Linked DNA regions of Homo sapiens: all the other regions are linked to region 1. The links are contacts of gene promoters, found by promoter capture Hi-C in blood cells and fetal thymus (Javierre and others, 2016). All regions are on one chromosome and are shown on one strand. Each heading gives the region's core, a stretch centred on a gene start or on the middle of the fragment in contact. The rest is flanking DNA. Distances are from core to core; before and after follow the strand shown.

The links. The method cuts DNA at HindIII sites, captures the fragments that hold promoters and counts their contacts. A CHiCAGO score of 5 or more calls a contact.
Region 2: a fragment that was not itself captured here is called in contact with the fragment with the promoter of ZKSCAN2 in region 1 in 4 of 17 cell types (fetal thymus, naive B cells, activated CD4 T cells and 1 more); the score reaches 6.4 in fetal thymus.
Region 3: a contact is called between a fragment that was not itself captured here and the fragment with the promoter of ZKSCAN2 in region 1, in 1 of 17 cell types (activated CD4 T cells). The highest score is 5.1, in activated CD4 T cells.
Region 4: a contact is called between the fragment with the promoter of TNRC6A here and the fragment with the promoter of ZKSCAN2 in region 1, in 2 of 17 cell types (fetal thymus and total B cells). The highest score is 5.8, in fetal thymus.

The regions. Positions count from the first base shown.
Region 1 is chr16:25,254,941-25,260,854 of GRCh38, reverse strand. It overlaps ZKSCAN2 (zinc finger with KRAB and SCAN domains 2), which reads left to right and starts at 3,010. Exons shown (of 7, transcript NM_001012981.5): 1 at 3,010-4,126; 2 at 5,463-5,649. The coding sequence starts at 3,728. ZKSCAN2-DT (ZKSCAN2 divergent transcript) reads right to left here and starts at 3,278. Exons shown (of 1, transcript NR_170220.1): 1 at 1-3,278. RefSeq lists enhancers at 2,149-2,228, 2,349-2,668, 3,084-3,644 and silencers at 2,879-3,078, 3,159-3,398. The HindIII fragment of the contact is 3,031 bases long and covers 883-3,913 here.
Region 2 is chr16:24,547,809-24,553,722 of GRCh38, reverse strand. RBBP6 (RB binding protein 6, ubiquitin ligase) reads right to left here. Exons shown (of 18, transcript NM_006910.5): 3 at 4,742-4,778; 4 at 166-210. Among named protein-coding and RNA genes, the nearest start is that of RBBP6, 11 kb to the right of the region's middle. The HindIII fragment of the contact is 522 bases long and covers 3,314-3,835 here.
Region 3 is chr16:24,565,314-24,571,227 of GRCh38, reverse strand. RBBP6 (RB binding protein 6, ubiquitin ligase) reads right to left here. Exons shown (of 18, transcript NM_006910.5): 15 at 3,723-4,085; 16 at 3,335-3,436; 17 at 729-2,483; 18 at 1-352. Among named protein-coding and RNA genes, the nearest start is that of RBBP6, 29 kb to the right of the region's middle. The HindIII fragment of the contact is 2,311 bases long and covers 1,837-4,147 here.
Region 4 is chr16:24,726,092-24,732,005 of GRCh38, reverse strand. TNRC6A (trinucleotide repeat containing adaptor 6A) reads right to left here and starts at 2,355. Exons shown (of 25, transcript NM_014494.4): 1 at 2,160-2,355; 2 at 1,706-1,753. The coding sequence starts at 2,164. RefSeq lists a silencer at 2,017-2,326. The HindIII fragment of the contact is 6,808 bases long and covers 1-3,399 here.

The DNA of each region.
Region 1 (5,914 bases), core at 1,761-4,260:
CACTTGAGGTCAGGAGTTCGAGACCATCCTGGCCAACATAGTCAAACATCATCTCTACTAAAAATACAAAAATTAGCCAGGTGCGGTGGCACACGCCTGTAGTCCCAGCTACTCAGGAGGCAGAGGCTACAGCGAACCAACATCACTGCACTCCAGCCTGGGAGACAGACCAAGACTGTCTCAAAAAACAAAACAAAGAAACATTCTTGTGAATCATGCGCAGTCTCAGATGGGCAGTTAGTCATTACTTTCTTGGTCAATGCCTTGTGACTAGACTGTGCAGGGGCCATCAGCCTGTTCCCAAAGCTGCGGGTCTGTGTGTTTTATCTGTTGAAGAAGGTCCTGTTTTTTTCTGTGGCTGTTTTTAGTGAATAGTTTACAAACTCAGGCAAAACAATAATTATACTCAAGCAAGCAAGCTTTTCTCTAACATAGAGTCAGTACTGCTGTTACCCGTTGCAGGGCCTAGGGGACTTAGCTGGACGCCTACCTGGCTTTTGTTACCCAATGCAATGCCTCCATGACATAGCTAAATTCCTACTCAGATTTAACTCTGCTTATTTTTAGAAAACAGGTTGTCTGTGGTCATAGGTTCCTTCTTAGCTTACTCGACCTCTGAAGAACCTCTAGCTTCATTCTAATCCAACTTCAGTACTAAATGACATTCCCACTGGTTGCCATGACAGTTGACAATCACCGTGATGACCCGAAGAGACCAAAAAAAGGACAAAAAAAGGGGCAGCTCCTTGATTCCAGGAAAATCTACCTCCCTTCCCAAGAAAAAACATGAATATTCCTCCTCTTGTTCTTAATTTTTATTTTTTTTAGAGACAGGGTCTTACCATGTTGCCCAAGCTGGTCTCCAATTCCTGGGCTCAAGCTTTCCTTCTGCCTCCTCGCCTTGCTCTTAATGCCCAGCCCCTTCATTAAGGACACCTGACGACTAAGCTCTGATTCTTTTGTTTTTTTTTTCTGTTTTGTTTTGTTTTTGACACAGAGTCTCACTTTGTCAACCAAGCTGGAGTGCAGTGGCACAATCTCAGCTCATTGCAACCTCCGCCTCCCGGGTTCAAGTTGAGTCTCATGCCTCAGCCTCCCAATCAGCTAGAATCACAGGCGTGTGCCACCATGCCCAGCTAATTTTTGTATTTTTAGTAGAGACGGGGTTTCGCCATGTTGGCCAGGCTGGTCTTAAACTTCTGACCTCAAGCGATCCACCTGCCTTGGCCTCCCAAAATGCTGGGATTATAGGCGTGAGCCACCACGACCAGCCTAAACTCTTGATTTTTTTAATCCTGCCCAAATTCCTATCTAAGGGATCTGGGGAGTCATGACCTACAAACCATAAATTCTCATCAGATGGGTTTTATTTAATCCTATATATGATGACTTACTTTCCATTCTGACTCTGGCATAACATTACGTGACAAAAAGAAAGTCAAAATATTTTACCCCAAAACATGTTTCCTTGCCCTATTTTGCAATTTCTTCCATAAAGGACAGCATTTTCCCCCAAAAGCTATCCTTTGTGGGGTAAAATGTGCATCTGTAAAGAACATCTATTAACATAGCTAGATGTTTTTCTTCCAGGCCCTCCCAATCCTAAACGGATTAACTAAAAGTCTAACACCTTTTGAAGATCTGAATAGGAAACATTTGTCATCTATTATCTCTAAGAGCAGCCACCATAAGACTTCAAAAGAACCTTAGTCTCCACTATCTTTTATCTTAACCTGAACACTTCCTTTCTATCAATCCCAGGTCTTCAGACAAACTCAACCAATTGTCAACTAGAAAATATTTAAATTTACCTATAGCCTGGAAGCCCCCACCCCCACCCCTTTGCGTTGTCCCGCCTTCCTGGACCAAACCAATGTATTTAATGTATTTGACTGATGTCTCATGCCAACCTAAAACATAAAACCAAGCTGCACCCCGACCACCTTGGGCACATGTTCTCAGGGCCTCGAGAGGGCTGTATCACAGGCTGTGGTTACTCGTATTTGGCTCACAATAAATCTCTTCAAATATTTTGCACGGTTTTACTTTTCGTCAACACTCCCTATTACCTGTAACTTCTCAGTTTCCAAGAGCTGAGAGCTTGATTTGCGAGCTACCCTCCCACTTCTCCAATTCCATGGCCACTGAATGAAGGCTGCACTGCCTGATACTCACACTTGGTCTCATGCGCTGGCTCTGCAACAACGGACAGACAAGAGTTCCTTTGGGGGAAACCAGCTTCCCAGGTGACACTGTTGCCTCTGCTACATGCGCAAAGCGCAGCCTGGCACATAGTAGGTGCTCAAGAGAGGGAAAGCCGGGTCTATGAATTCAGGGACAGGGGCAGCACCAGAAGAGAGCAAGCTGGGGCCTGGCTGGCTGAACCCTGGCCCCGAGACCCCTGTGACCCCCCTTCTCATCAGGATGCACCACATGAACCTCCCCAACGCGAGGGCCAACAAGTGGCCCCAGATGAGACCGCGCCGGGAAGGGCCTGGGGCCACGCACAGATACTTCCGCCAGAAAAACACCACGCCGCGCCGTGCACCTCCGCCAGAGGAAGAAGGTCCCGCAGGGTCGGGGTAACCGCTCCATCCCCGACCGCAACCCTGGACCAGGTACAAGGAACAGATCCCTCCACCGGAACGCCGTGTCCCTCCGCCAGACACAGGAGTCCCCGCTCCCGTGCTCTCCTTCCCCGGCAGCCAGGCCCCGGTGCCGACTCCTCCGCCTCAGGGAGGCCCCGCCGCCGCCTAGATTCTCCGCCTGAAGCGGGACTCGCGACGGCAGGTTCCCTAGAATCCCTCTGTGTCCCTCCGCCCCGGGGAGGACCCTCCGCGCCCCTCTACAATCTTAAAGTCCCTCAGCGACGAGTCACCGCGCCGCGCGCTCTCGCGAGAGTCCACCGCACGGCCCCCCCCCCCTCCCCCAGCCCCTCGCCCGCCAGGACGCCTCGCGCGGGCCCCGCGGCGCTCGGTGGCAGGCGGCGCATGCGTGACTGCGGTTCCCAGCGCCCCCCGCGCTCTCCGCGGGCCGAGTGGACGAGGCCGAACGCGAGCAGCCTGCCGCTGCCCCCTGCGAGCCCTGGCTTCGCCCCGCAGCTCTTCTCCCTTCCGGGCGGAACAGTTTTTGCGGCCTTTCCTCGGCGGCAGCGGTTTCCTCAGGACGGTCGGGGCCGTCGTGGGCCCGAAAGAGCCCGGCGCCGCTCTCGGAATCCGGCGGCCCCAGCGGCACCCGCGGCGGCCTGGACGTGCTGCGGTGACCCGAGCCCGGAACCTGGCGCCGGGCGGGGCCTGCACATCCGGCCCCACCCACTCGGGGACTCGCCTCTCCGCGCCCGACCCGGGAGTAGCGGACACACCCCCTCCCGGCCCGGCTGTCCGCCTCCGCCCAGCCTTTCCTCAGCCTGCTTCATTTTTCTCCCAGTCGTCCAGCCTCCCGGTTTCCGACTTTGCACTAAGAGGGATGCACTCTGGAAAACCACATTGCGCGGTCACATCTTGTTTGGAGAAGAGGCCAGGCTTTTGCATCTTAGAGTATACGTTCACCTTTTCAAGGGCCTGGCATAGATTTGATTAATCAGCCTGGAATACCCTGTTCCTGCCGACCTGGCCGTTTTTACCTCCGTACCTTATCACACTCCCAGGAACATTAAGCAGGGAGCGCTTGGAGTCTTCTTTGGGTCCCCACCTTGAGCTAGACGTGAAGTTGACCCCTGGGCTGCAGCATGGCTGTCGCCCTCGACTCTCAGATCGACGCGCCCCTGGAGGTTGAGGGATGCCTAATAATGAAGGTGGAAAAGGACCCTGAGTGGGCATCAGAGCCCATTCTGGAAGGATCGGATAGCTCTGAGACCTTCCGCAAATGCTTCAGGCAATTCTGTTATGAGGATGTGACTGGACCCCATGAAGCTTTCAGTAAACTCTGGGAACTTTGCTGCCGGTGGCTGAAGCCAGAAATGCGTTCCAAGGAGCAAATACTTGAGCTGCTGGTGATTGAGCAGTTTCTCACCATTTTACCCGAGAAGATTCAGGCTTGGGCACAGAAGCAGTGTCCGCAAAGTGGAGAGGAAGCGGTGGCCCTGGTAGTGCATTTGGAGAAAGAGACTGGAAGACTAAGACAGCAGGTGAGAGAGGATTTTCCAAATTTTTGTACTTAGAAAAAAGGGAATGGGAAAGGCATGTGGGCAGGGATGTATTGCAGAAAGACGTGCTCTTCAGAGAAAGATAAATGGTACTAATAAAAGACCCTATAAGGGGGTCTTTTCACTTTAAGTGAATCCACTTAAAAGGGGATCAGAATTTCACATGAAATAGAAAAATAAAAGCTTTGATTGAAATATTATCTTACAATGGAAACCAGACATTATTCACCTAAGCATTTATCGTCATCTTTGGCATAATGTTTGCAACAAAACAATATAAGAGAACAATATGGTTTTGCGTCACAGAGGTTCACTTACGCATTTTGATCAAAAAAGGCTATTCTGTTCCCCCTTTAAAAAAAAAAAAAAAAGACTTCATCCGTTATCCCAGAGCCGTCTCCAAGCGTTTTACTGTTGCACTCAGTGTCTTCTGAAGTGCTCTCATGCCTTCATTTCTGTCACTCTCCTCCAGTCTAACTGCCACATCTTCATTTCTCAGTGGCTTGCATGCTCTTCTAGTTGTTCTTCAACCTCACTTTCATGAACCTCGTGAAATCCTGCAGCATTTGCAAGATTTGCGGTTTCACCTTGCATCAGACTTGCATTGTGTAGAGATCTATCAGCAGGTTGCTGTATTGGTCAGGGATAGACAGATAGATGTGGATATTAATTTTGTAAGTTTTCATTTCACTACTGTATATATTCATGTCCTGGTAACTTCTTTGCGAACGTAACAGATATAGAGTCAAATAATATCTATTCTAGCAACAAGGAGGCTCTTTCACTCCTGACAGATTTCCTTCTCTGTTTAGTATTAAATATTATTCTGGCCAGGCGCGGTGGCTCACATCTGTAATCCCAGCACTTTGGGAGGCCGAGGCATGTTGATCACCTGAGGTCAGGAATTCGAGACCAGCCTGACCAACATAATGAAACCCCATCTCTACTAAAAAAATATAAAATTAGCCGGTTGTGTTGGTGCATGCCTGTAATCCCAGCTACTTGGGAGGCTGAGAGAGGAGAATCGCTTGAACCTGGGAGGTGGAGGTTGCAGTGAGCCAAGATCGTGCCATTGCACTCCAGCCTGGGCAACAAAAGTGAAACTCTGTCTCAGAAAAAAGAACACTGTTCTGTTACCTTACACCCAGACTGCTGGACAGTACTCTCAGCCCAGCGCTCTCAGAGACTCCACTGGGAATGGAGTGGAATTTTCATTCCTTCTCATGTCTCTGTCCTTCTTTGATGTCTTTCCTGGGAGAATTTCGCCCTGATATGGGCCTGTTTTACTCCCTCTTATGGTATTGACTTCATTTCTCAGGTCAGCAGTCCCGTGCACCGGGAGAAGCACTCCCCACTTGGAGCAGCGTGGGAGGTGGCAGACTTCCAGCCAGAGCAGGTGGAGACCCAACCCAGGGCGGTGTCTCGGGAGGAACCTGGAAGCCTCCACTCAGGACACCAGGAACAGCTGAACCGAAAGCGAGAACGTCGGCCCTTACCCAAGAATGGTAAGAGGGAAGACTCGGAGCACGCCTAGTGCAGAGGCTGGGGCAGATTTCCGCAGTACCCCAACGCTGTGAATGTGCAGTGGAGGGCCTCCTTGATACATATTCAGAATAGGAGAAAGGTTTCATTCACTTCAAGAATTAGGAACATGTGCAATATAAGTGAAAAGGTATCATAAAGATGGAAACTGAGTCTGGGCAACATGGGAAAACCCAGTCTCTACAAAATCGCAAAAAAAAAAAAAATATTAGCCAGGTGTGTTGGCGT
Region 2 (5,914 bases), core at 2,325-4,824, 710 kb after region 1:
CCTATCTTCTCAAAACAGCAACTACTCTTTACAGGATAGTAATAATATGTACAATGCTTTTGCAAAATATGTCCTCCCCCAACCCCTCTTAAAAAACCGTTCCACATAAAAAAATATGATGTTAGAAAAAAACTTATATTTTCAAGAATATATATATATATATACCTTTGTAAGCTGGGCCAGAGAAATAGACGCGGAAGAGTCATCAATCTGTTCACAAAAAATTAAACACACATTCAAGTTCCAAACTGAAAACATCTTAAAGTGATCATTTAGCCCCTATTGACACCTTAATGTTGAAATATTGGGCATTTTCTTAGTTTTCTAAAGAATGTTAAGCTTGAAAATGTAGCTCAGCCTACTTCATTCTTCTCTAGATATTTCACACAGTTATAAAAAGCTATCAGTTGGAGGGGAGGAAGAGGGGACTCAATTAAAATGAAAAAATGTATCACACAGAAAATCTGTTCAGAGTGTCGACTGAATACTAGGAGTCCCATATCTCCCTATGGTCTCTAAATGTGACAATACTCAAGACAATGTACACTGGAAGAGAGAATAAGAAATCTAATTTTCCTGCAAGGCCATTATACAACATTGTAAAAACAAACAGCCCTTTAAGGGCTCAGATAATTGCTTTAATAAATAACAGCTCCCATATAATTGCTACTTCTTTAATTTTTGAAAACATACTCTTCAGTCTGAGTAAGTTTGTTTATTCTCTCATACAAAGAGTAATAGCTTCTTGTCAAAGAAACCACAGCTTTCTCAGGGCAAAGATGTTAAGTCAAAAAAAGGGAAAACAATGGCACCCTGAGGAGAAGGCCAACAGAGCTGTCACTTATTATGATGGACTCTAATATTTGAAGAAAGTTAATTTAATCACACAGAGCAAGTGTACATAAAGGATATAAGAGGGCTTTAAAAAAGGTATTTTAATGAGCCTTAAGCATTCTGCCCCACTCACTAACTGCCAATTCTCTAACACTGAAGAGGGGGAGATAACTGGGCATATTTGAAGAGGCATCTTTGTGTAAAAGATGTATGGAGTCAGGAGAGAGCCACCTTCATAAACTGTTCTGTGCAAAGAGGAATAAAACATTTCTCTTTCAAAATAAAATAAAAATAAAAATGTATTTTAAATTGAACACTAATTTTTTTCATTTGATCCTCTGAAATGATTTTAATATCAGTTTTTAAAAAAATCTTTAGCAAACAATCTTGAAGATATGATTTCCCTACAGCTTCCTACGTAGTAAGTGGGTTGCTTAGTTAACATGTCGTAAGGTCAGAACTCTTCATTTAAAATGGAGAATGTAACAAGATGTCTGGATCAAAGAAAAAAGTCTTCATCAGGTATTCTGTTCCAGAGAACCAAAAGTTTTAAAATAAAAGCAACATGACTTAAGAGCCCCAAAGACAAATGTAACCAGTCTCAATATGAAGTTCTTAGCCAATGCCCACACAGTAGGGATTCAATAAATGTAAATAAAAAATAATGTTGGCTAAATATAAGACACATCTCACAAATATCTTAGGGTTTTAAAAGTTAATTTGATGGATATTACTGGGATGTTTATTCAGACAAAAGGTTCTTTGCTCCACATTAAGGAACTGACTATAAAAGAGTTCATGATGCACTAACCCTATAACTTAATGCATATCTACATAATTTGCCAATGGGTTATCATTTTTGTCCAGCTTTTAAGTATTTTTTTCCTTTAAGAACTAATCTCAAGTGGTAAGTAGAAAAAAACCTCTAAATAATACATATCTCTTTTTATCTAAAATAAGTTCTGACCTACTCAATCTATTTTAAAGATTTTATACCAACCAGAAGTTACTTGATTTTAAGTAACAAGGACTAGACAAATTGCTGTCAACCATCATCTATACTACATTCTAACCAATAAAACAAATAGTCTTTAAAAATAGCCCATTACTATCTAGAATAGAATATAAATACTGATGATTTCCTTGGAAAGAAAACAATTATATTAACTTTCTTACCACTGGAACTAAAAAACTTAAGAATAAAAAAAAAATCTTCCCACTCCTAACACTTAAGATATAGTATCCTTTTTGTTTTTATGCTGGGCTTTTGTGTGCTTTTAAGCTTTCTGCTAACTTATTAGTATTATGTATTTATTGACTTTGAAGTGGTTTTAGATATGCAACTGCACCTAAATCACCTTTTTACCACCAAGTAATCACTATTGCCCCTAAATATCTTATAGTCCACAAAGAAGTCAAATTTACCTCAAATTTAGAAAAGCAAACAAATGTTTCCTACATATAGCAAGGTGTTCAGAAATGAGCAAAAAATGTTGACAAAGAATGGTTTAAAAATGATTAGGAATTTGTATTACTAAACATCAATAAAAATAGTGACTCTTGGTAAGATACTAATGGTAAAAAAAAGTCTGCCACTTAAAGTCCTCACAAAACGGACTGATGCAGACCGTAGACATTAAAATTAACCCACCTCCCTGTACCTAATTAGGGGTCTTGTTTTGGGAAGCAAGGATCTAAAATCTTTTATGCCAATTATATTAGCTTTTTGAAGTTAAAGAATCCTATAAAATACCACTCTGATATTTAGTTAGCAAGAAGAACATCCAGCTTTGGGGTATCAACATGGATGGATGACTAAAAACAAGACTGGGGAATATGGAAACAGCCATCCATTCTTGATTAGAGTTCGCTTCCATTACCAAAACTATACATTTACTTTACTAATCAGGATAAGAAAAATTTGGCTTAGCGCCTCTATTTACTTTGCTTTTGTGAATGTGTACAATCCACGTGACTCTAAATCTCCTAAGATGGGCACTAATTATGCTTGATGAATATATTCTCATCTTAAATGCCAGCAAATGTACCCCAAGCAAATAAATGATGGGGACAACAAGGTTATCTAATATCTCTATTTCAGATAATTCTACCTAAAAATTAAAGCCAATTTTAAAGTATTAAAAAAAAAAGAAAAGAAAAGAGAAACCTAAATAAGCTTAAATAAACTGCTTCTTATAAATGTAATACAGACATGCCGGAACACACAAGGCTAAAAGAATGTTAACTTTATTTATGAACATGTGATTTGTGTTTATACACATGCTAATAAACAAAAAGGAAATAACTGTTTTCAAGAAATAAAACTTCATCTGAATTAGTTTAAATACTATATAAACTGTACTTTATACAAAATGTGTTACATTAACTACTACAGTCACCAGGATAGTCAATCTAATTTATGCTAGCATTTGGATACATAAAAATCAGTTTTAAACCAATCACCAGCAAAACATAAGCTTGGACAGTTTTTACAGCATTATGCTTAAAAAAAAAAAACAAAAAAACAAAAAAAAACACCCCATATCCAAAAAGAGGAAAAAAAAACCCCAAACACTAAGACTTTTGATCTTAGAATCACTGTATTTAGTTCCACAAGAACTAAAGGCCATATACTCTAAAGAACAAGTCCAATGTTCAGATATTCTATATTATCATGTTTAAGATCCAATGATCCAAGGTTAGTGAAATGCCTCATATACAAAGAGCAATAGTATTTAAAAAGTATATAATGTGAAATAGCAAGCAATACCCTTGAATTCTAAATGAAGATTTTAGACATCTTGCATTGTGTACAATATCAAGCCTGGGCATTAAAATGTTTAGAGAACCATTACATTTACAGAACCCAATTATGATAGACCTGTGTTATGAAACAGATGCTTCACCCCACAACTTAGGAATGCTGCTACTTTTTACTTAAGAGCTCAAAGTTAAAATGGTATCACAAATTAAGTTAATCTGTGATTACAAAAATTAAGCTTAACTTTCTTCAAACCAGTTATCCTGGTTAAGGGGAGTTACCTCTGATAAGGTACAGCTTTCAATGGCCTAAAATTAACGCAGCATTTTAGTATAAGAGGGAAATATTTTAATTTGGACATCTGCACTAACTAGATAGAAGTGGAAGATCTCATTAAACTTTGAAAACAATATAATCAGTTTATATAAACTCAAAATCACTAAGACACTTATATATTCATAGGGGGCCCCAGGTTCAGGTTTCACTTTATAGTACAGATGTAAACAAAAGAAGGAGCTCAAAATGCCAAATAAAGCAAGACTAAATAATAAAGCTGCATCAATGGTCTCTGGAAAGCTCTTTTCTATGATGTGTTTGAACTTGGAGAAAGCATCAAACTTTAATATAAGCTTTGCATGTTGCTAATGCGTTTTTGGAAGCCATAAATCAGGCAGGAAAAAAAAAACTAACAAAAACTAAGTGATACAACGTGAAAATGGCAAAATATACACTCCAAACATTTTTTATTGCAAGAAACAAAAAGCACACAACAGCCTGTACATACATACAAAATACTAACTATAGACAGACAAATGTAGAACATGTCATCATGTTCCTTAGTGTAAAACCTAAACGATCTAAAAAGGATCATACATTAACTGTACAACACAGTGTCATACAGGGATAATGCTATCATATTTAATATGAAACAGTGTTACGGGCACAAATTACCCATTTCTACAAAATAAGTGTGCAAGTGATGCCACATATTATCCATATTCAACTGAGCTGTCATCAAAATACATTTTATTTACAATATGTACTATGATCAGTTGGATATTAAGTTCTAAAATGATTTACTTCACTGCTACATTATAAAGGTAAAAGCAATGTGTAGAAAAAGTGTGAGATTGTGTTTTTACATACTGCTTTTGTAGTTGCCATCGCTGGTTCAGTTCGACTTCTAAAACACAAAATAAAAACAAAAATTAACATTAGCTATTTATGAATTTTTGTGCTAATAAATTTTAACACATTATCTTCAATAATACATTTTTAGGAACCTAATTTTCCTTTGGTATAAATATTTAACAGCCAATTTCTGAATGAATAAATTACTCTGATTAATCTTTACCACCTTTGAGCAGTTTTAAGATAGATTTGTGGTTTGGAAAAAAATTCCATACTAGGGAATTCAAAAATAGGTGTACCCTGCCACTTAAAACAAATGTTTTCTGAAAGGTAGTATAGGGATTTTATGTTTAGAAACGTAGTTTATTCTTAATAAACTGAAAATTTTAAATTATATAATTTCCCAGTTTCTGAATGCGTAAATTTTCACACATCAGGAAGACTGCTGTTGTTAACATTTGTAATTTGAATCCCTGAGAAATTGCTGTGCTCCCAAAACTAATTTTCAAATCTGGAGGGCCAGGCTGATAGCTATTTTCATTTTTCAAATGTCTCAAAACAACAATCAAGGATTGAACAAGAGGCCAAGGTGAGAGGATCACTTGAGCCCAGGAGTTTGAGACTAACCTGGGCTGTAACATAGTGACCCCATCTCTTAAAAACAGAAAAAAAAAAAAAACTGAACAAAAATTCTCACTCCCAGAAAAACACAATATAATCAGAGTATTTTAGTTAAAAGAACTGACTTAAATGGCTGTGTAGAACTGGACAATTTGATGTTTAAAAGACATAAACCCCAAAAGAAATTATTTTAATCCACACAGGAAAGGGGAAGAAGTTGAGTTGCTAGATTATAGCCTTTTAATGCTTAAAGTTTAAGGTATCTTGACTATAGAGAAATGTTAGCATCTAACAGGAGTTTCTAGGTGTGTGTATAATTTGGAATTTGAGATAAAAAAAAAACTGAGCTTTGATTTTCTAGTATTTGCTCAAAAAAAAACTGAGATGCATTTTATGAGGCAAATTTATTACAAACAGAACCCTATATATTGTACATTAACATATAATTCTGTGTAAGAGGCAACTTATTTTGCCATGTACTTCAAATAATTCTTAAGAGTTTCTATCAAAAAATCTACAGAAAATACATTTGCCATTTTTTAAAAAGCACTTGGTAAATTAAAGTAA
Region 3 (5,914 bases), core at 1,743-4,242, 690 kb after region 1:
ATGTTGTATGATTTCATGGCTCACGTCCTTGGTGAATTTCTGAATTTTCTCGGATGGCTCACTTTCTTTCTCAGGATACTTGACTATATTTGATGGCTTTGTACTAACATTTTTTATAACACTAGCAGGTTTTCCTACACTTGATATAGGCTGTGTGGATTTAACATCTTCTTCTTCAGATTCAAAGTCATCTTTATCCCATTTGGATTGAGGAACCTGAATCATAATGATAACATCTTCAGCTGGCGCGGTATTGTCATTATTATATTCTTCCATCGTTTTAATCACAGTTCGCTTTGTATCTGTTTTTTCTTCAGATTTCCGCACAGGACTGCCTCCAGTTGAGCTCGTACTAAAAAGAATAACAAAATATTTTTAATTAATGAAGAATTTACTATTAATTATAAAACACTGATAAATATAAAAATGCTAACTTAAACACAAATGTCCTTTTAACATTAAAAAAAACAAAAAACTTATTCTGCCCTAAGGAAGACACACAATTTAAGATTATGATTGTATCAACACAAATGTGGCTCACCCCCAAAATCTATTTACAACCTTGTCTTTGGCAATTCCCTTCTTCAAAGACAACAAAAGACTACATAAAACCAGCCTACTTCCCTAGATCAGCATTCATAATTAATATAAAAAGCACAAGCATGGATAAAACTGAAGAAAATCCTTCTCCCAACAAAGTTCCACACCCACCCCCTACACTCAGCTACCTGGTGTAATCCACCAGAGTTGAGCTGGATCCTTCAGTTCCAGTCACTTTTCGTCTGACCTTTCCTTTGACTTTTTCTTGTTTAACTTTGCTAGATGTTGACTCCAATTTTTCAGAGGGTTCTTTTGTGTTTGATATATTTTCTGTACTTCCAATTTTCTTCCCAGTTTCTCTGTTGAGTTTGATTTTTTTGGCTGGCGCACTTAAAGAAATTTTGTCCTTTTCAGGGGTCCTATCCATTTTTTCAGTATCAGGTTCCATTTTGCGCTTTGGTGATGGTTTCACTATTTCAGTCACTTCTAGTTTCGAGATTTTCATTGAAGAAGACTCAAAATCTTTATCTACGCCTTTTTCTTCAGTTTTTCTTTTTCTTTTTTCTCCCTTATTATCAAGTGGTTTGTTTTTCTCATTAGGCTTCTTGGCCTTTTCTTCCTTAGTTGTTAGCTTTTCTGATTTGACATCTTTGGAATAGTCCTTCTTCACTTTTTCCTCTTTGACTGGTTTTGTTTCTTGGTGTTCTTTTGCTGATTTAGAGTGAGCTTTTCTGGGGGTTCCAGTGATTTTTTCATCCTTCTGAGAGGAAGATGATGATTTAGTATTGTCAGTCTTCGGAGTCTCCTCTTTGGCTTTTTTAATTGGAGGTTCAGATCGAGGAGATCTCTCACGTTCTCCATCTACTTTTTCTTGGGGTCCTTTAGCAGGTTTTACAATATTTTCTTTTTTGGACACAGCAGATCCATCATTCTTCCGTTTGGTTTTATCACCCTTTGCTTTTGGTTTATCCCTTTCTCTCTTGTCTTTTTCAGACACTGATTTAAAAGTGATTGATTCTGCATCCATTGGTTCATCTCTAACAGGTGTGGCATCATCTCTACTTGGGAGAACAAACAATGAGTCTGTTTTATTTTCTTCAACACCTGTAGGTTCTCTTGATTTCCTAGAAGTCTCTAATAACTCTGGGTTCAGAAAACCCTCACTTTCCTCCCCTTTTCTTCTTTTTCTGTGTTTCTTATGCTTATTTCCTTTACCATCTCCTGGAGCGTTTTCACTCTCCTTCTCTTTTGACTTTGTATTATCCTTCTGATTGTGACCATCTCTTGCTGAAAGCTTTTCTGGATAGTTGCTACCTATGTTTCGACTTCTATGACTTTGCCCACCAACATAGTCTTCTCTGCGGCCTCTTGTGAAGGGAGAATTCCTGATGTTAAGTGGCAAAAATCTCTCTGGAGAAAAGTTCTCTCTATTTGCTGAGGGTCTAGGCTGTGCTCCAGCAGCATAACCTTTATAATATTTTTCATACCACTCTCTATATTTTCTCTCCCATTCTCGGTAGCGTTCTTTTTCAAATGGGTCTCTAAAGTCAACACTTCTCCCATAATATGCTTTCATGTCATATGGTGGTGGAACTTCTCTGTATCTATTAAAATATTCACGTTCTGTTTCCCCTTGAGGTACATTACGTTTATTAGGAGACTGTCCCCTAAACGCTTGAGGAGATCTTGATCGTGAATGATAGCGTCTGTAAGGGGGTGACCTTGACCTAGATCGATGATATCCATGAGATCTAGACCGTGAACGGTAATTGCGGCTCTTGCCTCTGCCTCTTCTGGGGTATGGAGGTGACCGTGAATAGGAACGAGAATGTGAGCGGCTGAATGATCGAGAATAAGAGCGTGAACGTGTTGAACCAGATCTTGATTTAGAATAAGTATATGAACTTCTTGAATACGAAGAACCACTATAGGGAGATTTAGACCTAAAAACAAAACAAAACAATAGTTGATAGTTGAGAAATACATACAAAATAAAACACAGACTCTCAGATTCTAGCATTCTTTCCTCACGGTTTCATCTATCTTTATATCAAATTTCATCTTAGATGATTAAAGAGGCACAGTGACCTCTACTGGAATGGAATAAAGTACACAAATCGGAGCAATCACTTGTTACAAAACAAAAGTGAAGTCTTAACAATTAGAGTGAAGTGCATTAATGTACCGTGAGTTATATGAGCTAACTAACATTAAACAAAATGTCAATTAATTTTAAATTTCACTTCCTATCTGAATATTGAAGTAGGAGTCTGTTTTTTGTCCTATACTGGCCAACAGCCTAGTTTTAAAAGAAACCACATTTCAAGTGTAAGGCTAAAAAATAAAGTCTTTTAAACAAACTTCCAGGGAATTTTTATAATTCACTTTTTCTATCAATAAAGCGATCTGTATTCTACTACTACTTCATAATTACGCAGGTTAATGTTCCAGCAAGAAGCTGTAGCCTTATGGTAAAAGGGTCCTGGGAACTGTTTTTTGGCTATTCCCCTATTTCTTTCCTTCCAAAAACATTTCCCAATTATTTGATACTATGAATAACTTTAAGGGACAAGGGCAATTTAATCCCCACAACTGTTAGTTCTACACAATAAAATTTACACTGAGACATTATTTCAATGAACAGATATTGGGAAATAAGCTACATCTTCACTTCTATACACCTAGACCGAATCAGAAAAATTCCTAAGTGCAATGTTCTTTATATCCATAGCTAATCCCTGGATATTCAAAGTCCCGTTTGTAATTCTGTTGTGAAGGCTTGCAAAACACTAACCTGGAAAATGAGCGCCTACGCTCCTTTTGAATCTTTTTGTATTCCATCAATTCCTTAGCAAAATCATTTGTAAACTCATCTAGCTTGGACTTTTTCTTTTCCCTAGTAAAATAAAGTTAAAGAGTGAAAGTTAACAAAAACCATTTAAGAAAACTAACAAGACAAATGTAATTAGATCATGAATGAAATGAATGAAATTGCCATTAGTTTTCCACTTTAAAACTATAAACTAGGAATCCCTGAGAAGTTGCTTGTATGGCTTTGGTTTAAATTTTAGGTGAATTTCTCATACTAACTGGAAACACTGGAAAACGTTTCCAGACACCTATTTAATGTTATTATCAGAAAATGAAAAAAGTGTATAATAATTTCAAATTAGAATACATACTCTTCTTTTAGTCGTCGCTGCTCTCTATAGAATTCTTCCCTGGACAAAGGTGGTGCTTGTGTTGTTGGGATGGTATTTGAATGAGCTGTCTGCACTCCTGATGATACCCAAGGTGTTGATAAATTGGCAGGAGCTGGAGGAAACCCTGGAGGAGGGACACTATACCCAGCGGGTGGTGGCTGGCCAGGAGGAAACTGAGGAGAAAACTGTGGAGGAGGAACACCCGGAGGGAGAGGAAGTGTATGGGGAGGAGGCGGATACAAAGGAGGTGGTGGAACAGGTACAAAGACTGGAGTTGCTGGTAGTGACGGGCCTTGAGTCCTCTGTGATCTTTCGCTGTGGTGTCGCCCACGGTTTATACTTCTGGAAAAATAAATTCCAAGATATTACTTCTTCAAACTAAAGTCATCTGAGACAAGTAAGCTTATCTCTTCTATCCATAATTATTTTCAAACTTAAAAACAGTGGAATAGAACCAACTATTCAACTAGTGTAGCAACATTAGTACAATTTATTTGTAAAAATAACTCTACAACATAATTTTTAAGGCCATGTCTCGACTGAGATGATGCAAGTTTATAGGACCTTCTCTACACGGAAATATTGTATTTAAAAGTTCTCTTTTATGAAGTTCAGACTGATTATCACTCCACTAATTACTACCTGTTACTTCCTAAACTGTCTTTTGAAGGCACTGACAGGTTAATGCTGCTATGACCTAGCTCTCCCCAAAAGCTTACTTATTCATTTATTTTTTATTTTTTGAGACAGAGTCTCACTCTGTCGTCCAGGCTGGACTACAGTGGTGTAATCTTGGCTCACTGCAACCTCCACCTCCTGGGTTCAAGCGAATTCTCCTGCCTCAGCTTCCCAAGTAGCTGGGACTAGAGACGTGTGCCACCATGCCCAGCTAATTTTTGTATTTTTAGGAGAGACAGGGTTTCACCATGTTGGGCAGGCTGTTCTCAAACTCCTGACCTCAGGTGATCTGCACAAAGTGCTGGGGTTACAGGTGAGAGCCACCACACCTGGCCCCAAAAGTTTAAATGAAGGAAAACCAACTCCTGTAACCTCTTTTTTGAGGGAGGAAGTGGGTAAAGATCATACAAAGCAGAATAAATTCTAGTTTTAACTTCTATAATTAACAATGAAAATATCAACGCTTTCTCTCAAAAGCTTAAGTAAAAATAACAGTGTTGGCTAAGTTTCTAATTTGTGCCTCACCAAACAGAACTGGTTACTTCTGTTAAACTAGAGGTGCTTTAAATTATAAATAATTGGTACACAACAGCAACAGTAGGGGTTTAGATTTTAAGCATCTTTTCAGTGAGCCATGAATAACTATTACCTTCTTTTAAAATGTGATCCAGTAATGACATAGTAAACTTTCATAAGTTTAGCAATGAAGCACTAGAAGATATCCCGAATTTCCTTCTTTTTGGAGACAGGGTCTCACTCTGTCCCCTAGGCTAAAGTGCAGTGATGTGGTTATAGCTCACTGCAGCCTTGACTTCCTAAGCTCAAGTGATCCTCCTGCCTCAGCCTCCCAGGTAGCTGGGACCACAGGTGCATGCCACCATGTCTGGTTATTTTATTTTTTTGGTAGAGACAGAGTCTTGCTATGTTGCCCAGGCTAATCTTGAACTTCAGGCCTCAAGCAATCCTCCCCCATCAGCCTCCCAAAGCTCTAAAATTACCAGCATGAGCCATTATGCCTGGCCAAAACTCTTGTTATGAAGTTTTGGAGGCTCCTTTATCCTGGTGGTGATTATGACCTAGACTAGCAGTTCTCAACCGTTTTGGCACCAGGGAGCTGTTTTGTGGAAGACAATTTTTCCATGGACGGGGGCAGGGGGGTAAAAACTGTTCCACCTTAGATGATCAGGCATTAGATTCTCCTAAGAAGCGTGCAACCCAGATCCTTTGCACACGCAGTTCACAACAGGGTTCATGCTCCTATGAGAATCTTAATGCCACTGCTGATCTGACAAGAGGTGGAGCTCAGGTGGTAATGCTCGCTCAGCTGCTGTTCACCTCCTGCTGTGTTGCCCAGTTCCTAACAGGCCAAGGATGGATACTGGTCTGTGGCCCAGGGTTGGGGACCCCTGACCTAGACAGTAAGATTCTTACTTCTTAGATTAATATTGCTTGTACCCGCCCACTAGGGCAGGAGCCTCTAACAATCTCCTGTC
Region 4 (5,914 bases), core at 1,106-3,605, 530 kb after region 1:
GCATTTATGATAGTCTTTCTACTAGACTGTACATGCCCTCTGTGAACACGGACAGCACTTTACTCCTTTTATGTAACCCAAAGGGCCTAACAGACCTCAGCAACTGGCTGGCCCACGCCGCTCGTTTTATAGATTGGACAGAGAGGCTAAGTGACTTGCCAAGAGTCAAGGTCATATTGCAAGTAGCAGAGCTGGAATTCAAACTCTGATAAATAGCCAACCCAGACTCGAGTTCTACCTAATATTAAAATTATACCTGTGGCACAGACAATTTTTAATTAAGTACTAGAGCACCTTCATAGGAATTATACTGATATAGTTACCTGATAAAACAAAAATGGAAGGAGAAACAGACCTCTAAGCTCTGTTCTGCTGATATTACACCTTAATGGCTCAACCTGTTTTCTTTAATGGTTTCATATCTTAACATTTCCTTACTAGATTTTGACAAAATTTATGTAAATATACCACAAATAGTCAGTGATGTCAGACTTAATTTCCTTTAAATGATCCCATAATTATTTTGAGTAACAGAGAATCCCTTACTGGGTAAACCAATGATGCCTATCCTTCACCATCTGAACACATTCTTTAACGATCACCTGAACAGATTAGTATCTTATGAAACTCAATAGGCCAGCAATTTGGAACAATTCTACGCGGTGCAAAATATTCAGACGATTTGAAATGTGAGTGTTAAAAACCCCAATGTAAACCTAAAACCCGCAATCATCAAGAGCAAACTACATTAAAACCTGAGATAGGAGAAATTTCATTTTATTTTCAACAAGTGAAAAAAAAGAAAAAAAGAAAGCTATTCACGGATTTGGTTAATTGGCTAAGTTTCCCTGAGTGTCCCAATATGATGCAAAAGAAAAAGGGGAATAAGAAAGGAAAAGACGGTAGGAAAGAAAATGAATGTGAAAAGGAGTTAAATACAGTACAATTCCTTGATGCTTAAGCAATTACAGCTCAATGAAGCTAAATATTTCCATTCCATAAAGACATCGTTTAAAAAAAAAAAAAAATTCTCCCTTCACGGTGATGCAAAAGCAGCAGGGCCCAACAGGAACGATAACCTCTTCTGGAGAAAAGATTTTTAATTATTTTACCAGCTGATAAAAAGAGCACACACCGAACATGGACAGAAATGGAGTTTCGAAGGAAAACAAAACGCAGCTTATGCTTGGTAAAGTTCAAGGACAAAACTGTGTCCAATGCAACAGAATCCGCCTGACTACAATGTATGGGGGGGGGGGGGGGGCGGGGGGGAATGCGAACACATAGTATCTTTTTATAAAAGCAACAATTTGAGCTACAAAGTAATAACGGGGAAGCCAAAACAGTTTGACAGCCCGCCATAAGGGCCGCCTCAATCATGAGTCACACAATGCCTGCAACCATTTACAATAGTAATTAATGCACAAGTCCCCTAATTAAATTCTAAAAGGGTGAGAATGCTTTAACTAAGTTTACAAGAATTGCTTTGCGCTTTTTTTTTTTTTTTTTAAAGAAAGAAACACACGCGTAATTACGCATCTCCCCGCAATCCCTCCAGTATTCCCCCAGGCCGCTTCTCCCGAATGTCTGCTCTCCGGGTGCGGAAGAAAATGTCACGGGGGAACTTCTCAACCCAGAAAAGGCGAATCGGAGTAGAAATATACGATTATCGTGGGGCGGGAGACGGAAAGCTCGCCCATCTTACCTGCTAAGATTTCTTTCTACGTCTTTGGTAGCTTTAGCTTCCAATTCTCTGAAACAAAAAAACAAAAACAAAAACAAAACAAAAACACACACACAAAAACGAGATGCGCGTGAAAACGGAGCTGCTGCGGCAGAGGCTCGCGCCGGGGCCGGATGGGGGAGGGGAGAGGACGGGGGGAGGGGGACTCACAAAGCTGCGGGGCTGCAGCCCGGACTGCGGTCCCGCGGCGCGGGCGAGGCGCAACCCCGGCCTGGCCCCCGCGGCGCGGCGCAGCGAGGCTCCCCCGGGCCGCCCGCTCGGCCTCCGCAGCAACGCAGCCTGCGCCCTCCCGCCGAGGCCCGAAGTCTCGGGGACGCCCGGCGCCGCCGCCTCTGCTGCCGCCGCCGCGGGTTGCGGGCCCTGCGGCAGCGCCCGCGGCTCCTCCCGCCCGGAGGGAGGCCCTTGTTCCGCTCACCTCATGTGTGTAAAGTGCACGAGCAAGTGGGGCGCGGCGAAGGAGGCTCGCGAGCCTCAAGCCCTCCGCAGCGCCGCGGGGAGAGGCCCGAGCCGCTGCACCAGCGCCATTTTCTACACCGACCCGCTGCCGCCGCCGCCGCCGCCGCCGCCGCCGCCGCCGACACCGCCGCCGCCGCAGGCCCCAGACCGGAAGTGAATGCCCCACTCGGCAACCCCTTCCGGGGGCGCCACGGCCACTGGCCCCCAAGATGGAGGCCCTAGCAACTGGACCCGCAGATTGGGCAGGTCCTTGGCAACCGCCCCGGCGTGTCACGCTGCACCCAGCCGGACCTCCCTGGAGGTCACAGCCTCCGAGGCGCCCCGCGGAGTGGCTGGGGGGGCCTGCGGAGTCCCGAGTCCAACCTTTTTCGGTGCGGCCGGCTCCGGTCTGACCGAGGAGGGGAGTCCCTCCCCTCCTCCTCCTTCTTTGCTGCGACACAAGTTTCCTACCCGCCGCCCGGCCCCTCCCCCACTGACACACGCCAAAAAAAAAAAAAAAAAAAATTGCCTAAAACGCAAATTTTACCCCAACTGCAGCCTGATGAGCCCGCGCGGCTTTTGAATTCAGCCACTTCTAATTATTTTTGACCTTGGGCCAGTTATTTAACCTCTCTGCTTCTCTGTTCCTCCTCAGGTAAAGAATGCATACCTGAGGCGGGTTGTGAGGCTTAAAAGCGATTTTTATCCACCGACCTTTGACTCAGCAGTTCCGCCTGCACGGATTTTCTGCTCAGGAAATAATTCTGGGTATCTGCAAATATTTCACCTTCGAGATACTAAGCTGTGGTATTGATGATGGTGAAAAATTGCAAACAGCCAAAATGTCCAGCGCTACTAGATGGCTTCAAAAACAGCTACTGGCATGTATTAGGACACTGTAAAAATGATGTGGAGGAATAATCCCGGCATGGAGGAAATGGTTGCAATAGAATAAATGAAAAAGCAGGTTCCAACGTAGCTCACACAGTAAGAAACATCTTAGTGTAGACACAGTAAGATACATACATGTAGATAGACTAAGATATGTATATATGTAGACACAGATGCATATGTGTACATTAAAAGTATACATACATACCTACATGTAGATACAATAAGACATACATATCTGCAGGTAGATACAACAATACACATACATGTAGATACAGTAAGATACATATTTTCACTTGCGTGTGTTCTTTCCAACCTCTCATCAAGCTTTTTCTTCTAATTTAAAGATAATTCCTCCTCTGTGCTTAAAATCTATAACCTTTACTTTCTCAGAAACCCCACTCTGTGGATCATCCCATTCTCCTTTTTCTAACCTAAGTTCTTCAACTGGCTTTTTTTTTTATTTTTTTATTATATTATCATTTTTTTTAGGCGGAGTCTCGCTCTGTCTCCCAGGCTGGAGTGCAGTGGCGCGATCTCCGTTCACCGCAACCTCCGCCTCCCGAGTTCAAGCAATTCTCCTGCCTTAGCCTCCCAAGTAGCTGGGATTACAGACACGCACCACTGCGCCTAGCTATTTTTGTATTTTTAGTAATGACGGGGTTTCGTCATGTTGGCCAGGCTGGTCTTGAACTCCTGACCTCAGGTGATCGCCCCCCTCGGCCTCCCAAGGTGTTGGGATTACAGGCGTGAGCCACCGCGCCCAGCTTCAACTGGCTTTACAACATGCTTGAATCTCTCCCGTTAAAAACAAACAAAACTTCCCTAGACATGTTGGGTTCCTGTCCTCTCCGATAGGTTAAGCTAGTGAATGAATGCACAGAAAGTCATGAAACATATGCACCAAAACGTTAACTGATTATGACTTTTTTTCATTTTCTTCTTTTAGTGTATCTGTTTTTTTCTTTTTTGCGATGAGCATATAAAAAACACTTTTTTGAAAAAAAAAATCAGGTTTACAAAATATAAAATGTAGTGGGCACCGAATAAATGCTAGTGACTTTCCTTTTCCTGCTATCATCCCTGAGGTTCATTTACCTACACACATATTTGTTTTTCTTTCATAATCCTTTCTACTTAAAATGTTTAAAAGTTACTATGGTGTTTCATTAGGAGTTTAAAAATATGAACATATACGTAATGGCACAATATGCTTTCATACCAGGTTTAGGAATAATTTTTCACAACAACATAAGGCAATGAAAACAGTCATATTTATCAACATTTGCACAGCTGTTAAGATTGGCTGATTTTTTTTTTATTAGACTTTTTTAGGTTTTAATGACTCAGTGATTCTTAATTGGGACAATGTTGCCCCCATCCCTACCCCTGGGGACATTTAGCAATGAACTTTTTGGTTGTCACACTGGATGCTACTGATTGGTATCTGATAGCTACAGACCAGGGATTCTACTAAATATTCTACGATGCGTAGGACAGTCCCCTACAACACGGGAGTATCTGAACCAAAATGCCAATAGCACCAAGGTTGAGAAAGCCTGGAACTAATTCCCAGCTCCAGCAAAGCTAATAAGATATGATTTCTTGGCCAGGCGCGGTGGCTCATGCCTGTAATCCCAGCACTTTGGGAGGCCGAAGTGGGCAGATCATCTGAGGTCAGGAGTTTGAGACCAGCCTGGCCAGCATGAGGAAACCCGGCCTGTAGTAAAAATAAAAAATTAGCCAGGCATAGTGGTGCATGCCTGTAATCCCAGCTAATTGGGAGGCTGAGGCAGGAGAATCGCTTGAACCCAGGAGGCAGAGGTTGCAGTGAGCTGAGATCACACCATTGCACTCCAGCCTGGGCAACAACAGTGAAACTCCACCTTAGGGAAAAAAAAAAAAAAAAAGATGTGATTTCCAGAAGGTTTGTTGACAGTGATTGGACATCCCATCTGAGCCCTCCTGGGCTGCAATGTAGAGTGTTTTATATGAGGTCATGCTAGTCACTTTTAAATTATCTCTTACTTAAACTTGGTGCATACATCGAAGAAAAATGACAATATAAGATCAGCACTGATTCCTTATGTGGGACCCTCTAAGGGATCTTTTCCTGTTACTATCTTTTCTTTTTACTAAGTAATCATTCTCTCTACTGAATATTTCCCATCACCACACAAACTCTAGTAACTTTCATTAAAAAGCAAAAAGCCCAAAACTCCCTTGATGCGTCATTCCTCTCCAGCTCCATTTTTCTGCTCTCGTTCCCAACAATGCTTTCTTGGGAAACTGTTCAACACAAGCACCTTCCACTGGCTCTCCTCCTTCTCCCAGCTCTCTTTAACCTGATATCCCCATCCCTCCTGCAAAACTGCTCTTATGAAGGTCGCAAATGACTTTGAGGGTGCCAAACTCAATGGAAACATGTCTGTCCTCATCTTGATTTACTTCTTAGCTACATTTGCCACAACCTAACTCTCCCTCCTTCTTAAGAGAATCTCTTTGCTAGGCCATCCTGACAGTATATTCTTCTGGAGTTCTTTTTACCTCTCTAGCCATTTTTTTTTTTTTTTGGTATCTTTTGCTAACATCTTCTGTTTTATATCAAATAAATGTTGGAGATCTCCCCACTCCCAAGGCTTTGTTCCAGACTTCTGTTCTTCCCCCTTCTCTACTCTCCCTTTAGGATGGGTAATCTCATTTATTCTCTTGTATTTAAGTACTCTCTGAATGCAGATTACTCTCAGATTTAAACCTTAACCGTTGTCTCACCTGTGTACCCCTGAATGCCAAAATGACAATTCACTCACACAGTATTTATTGAGCACCTACTATGTGCCAGGC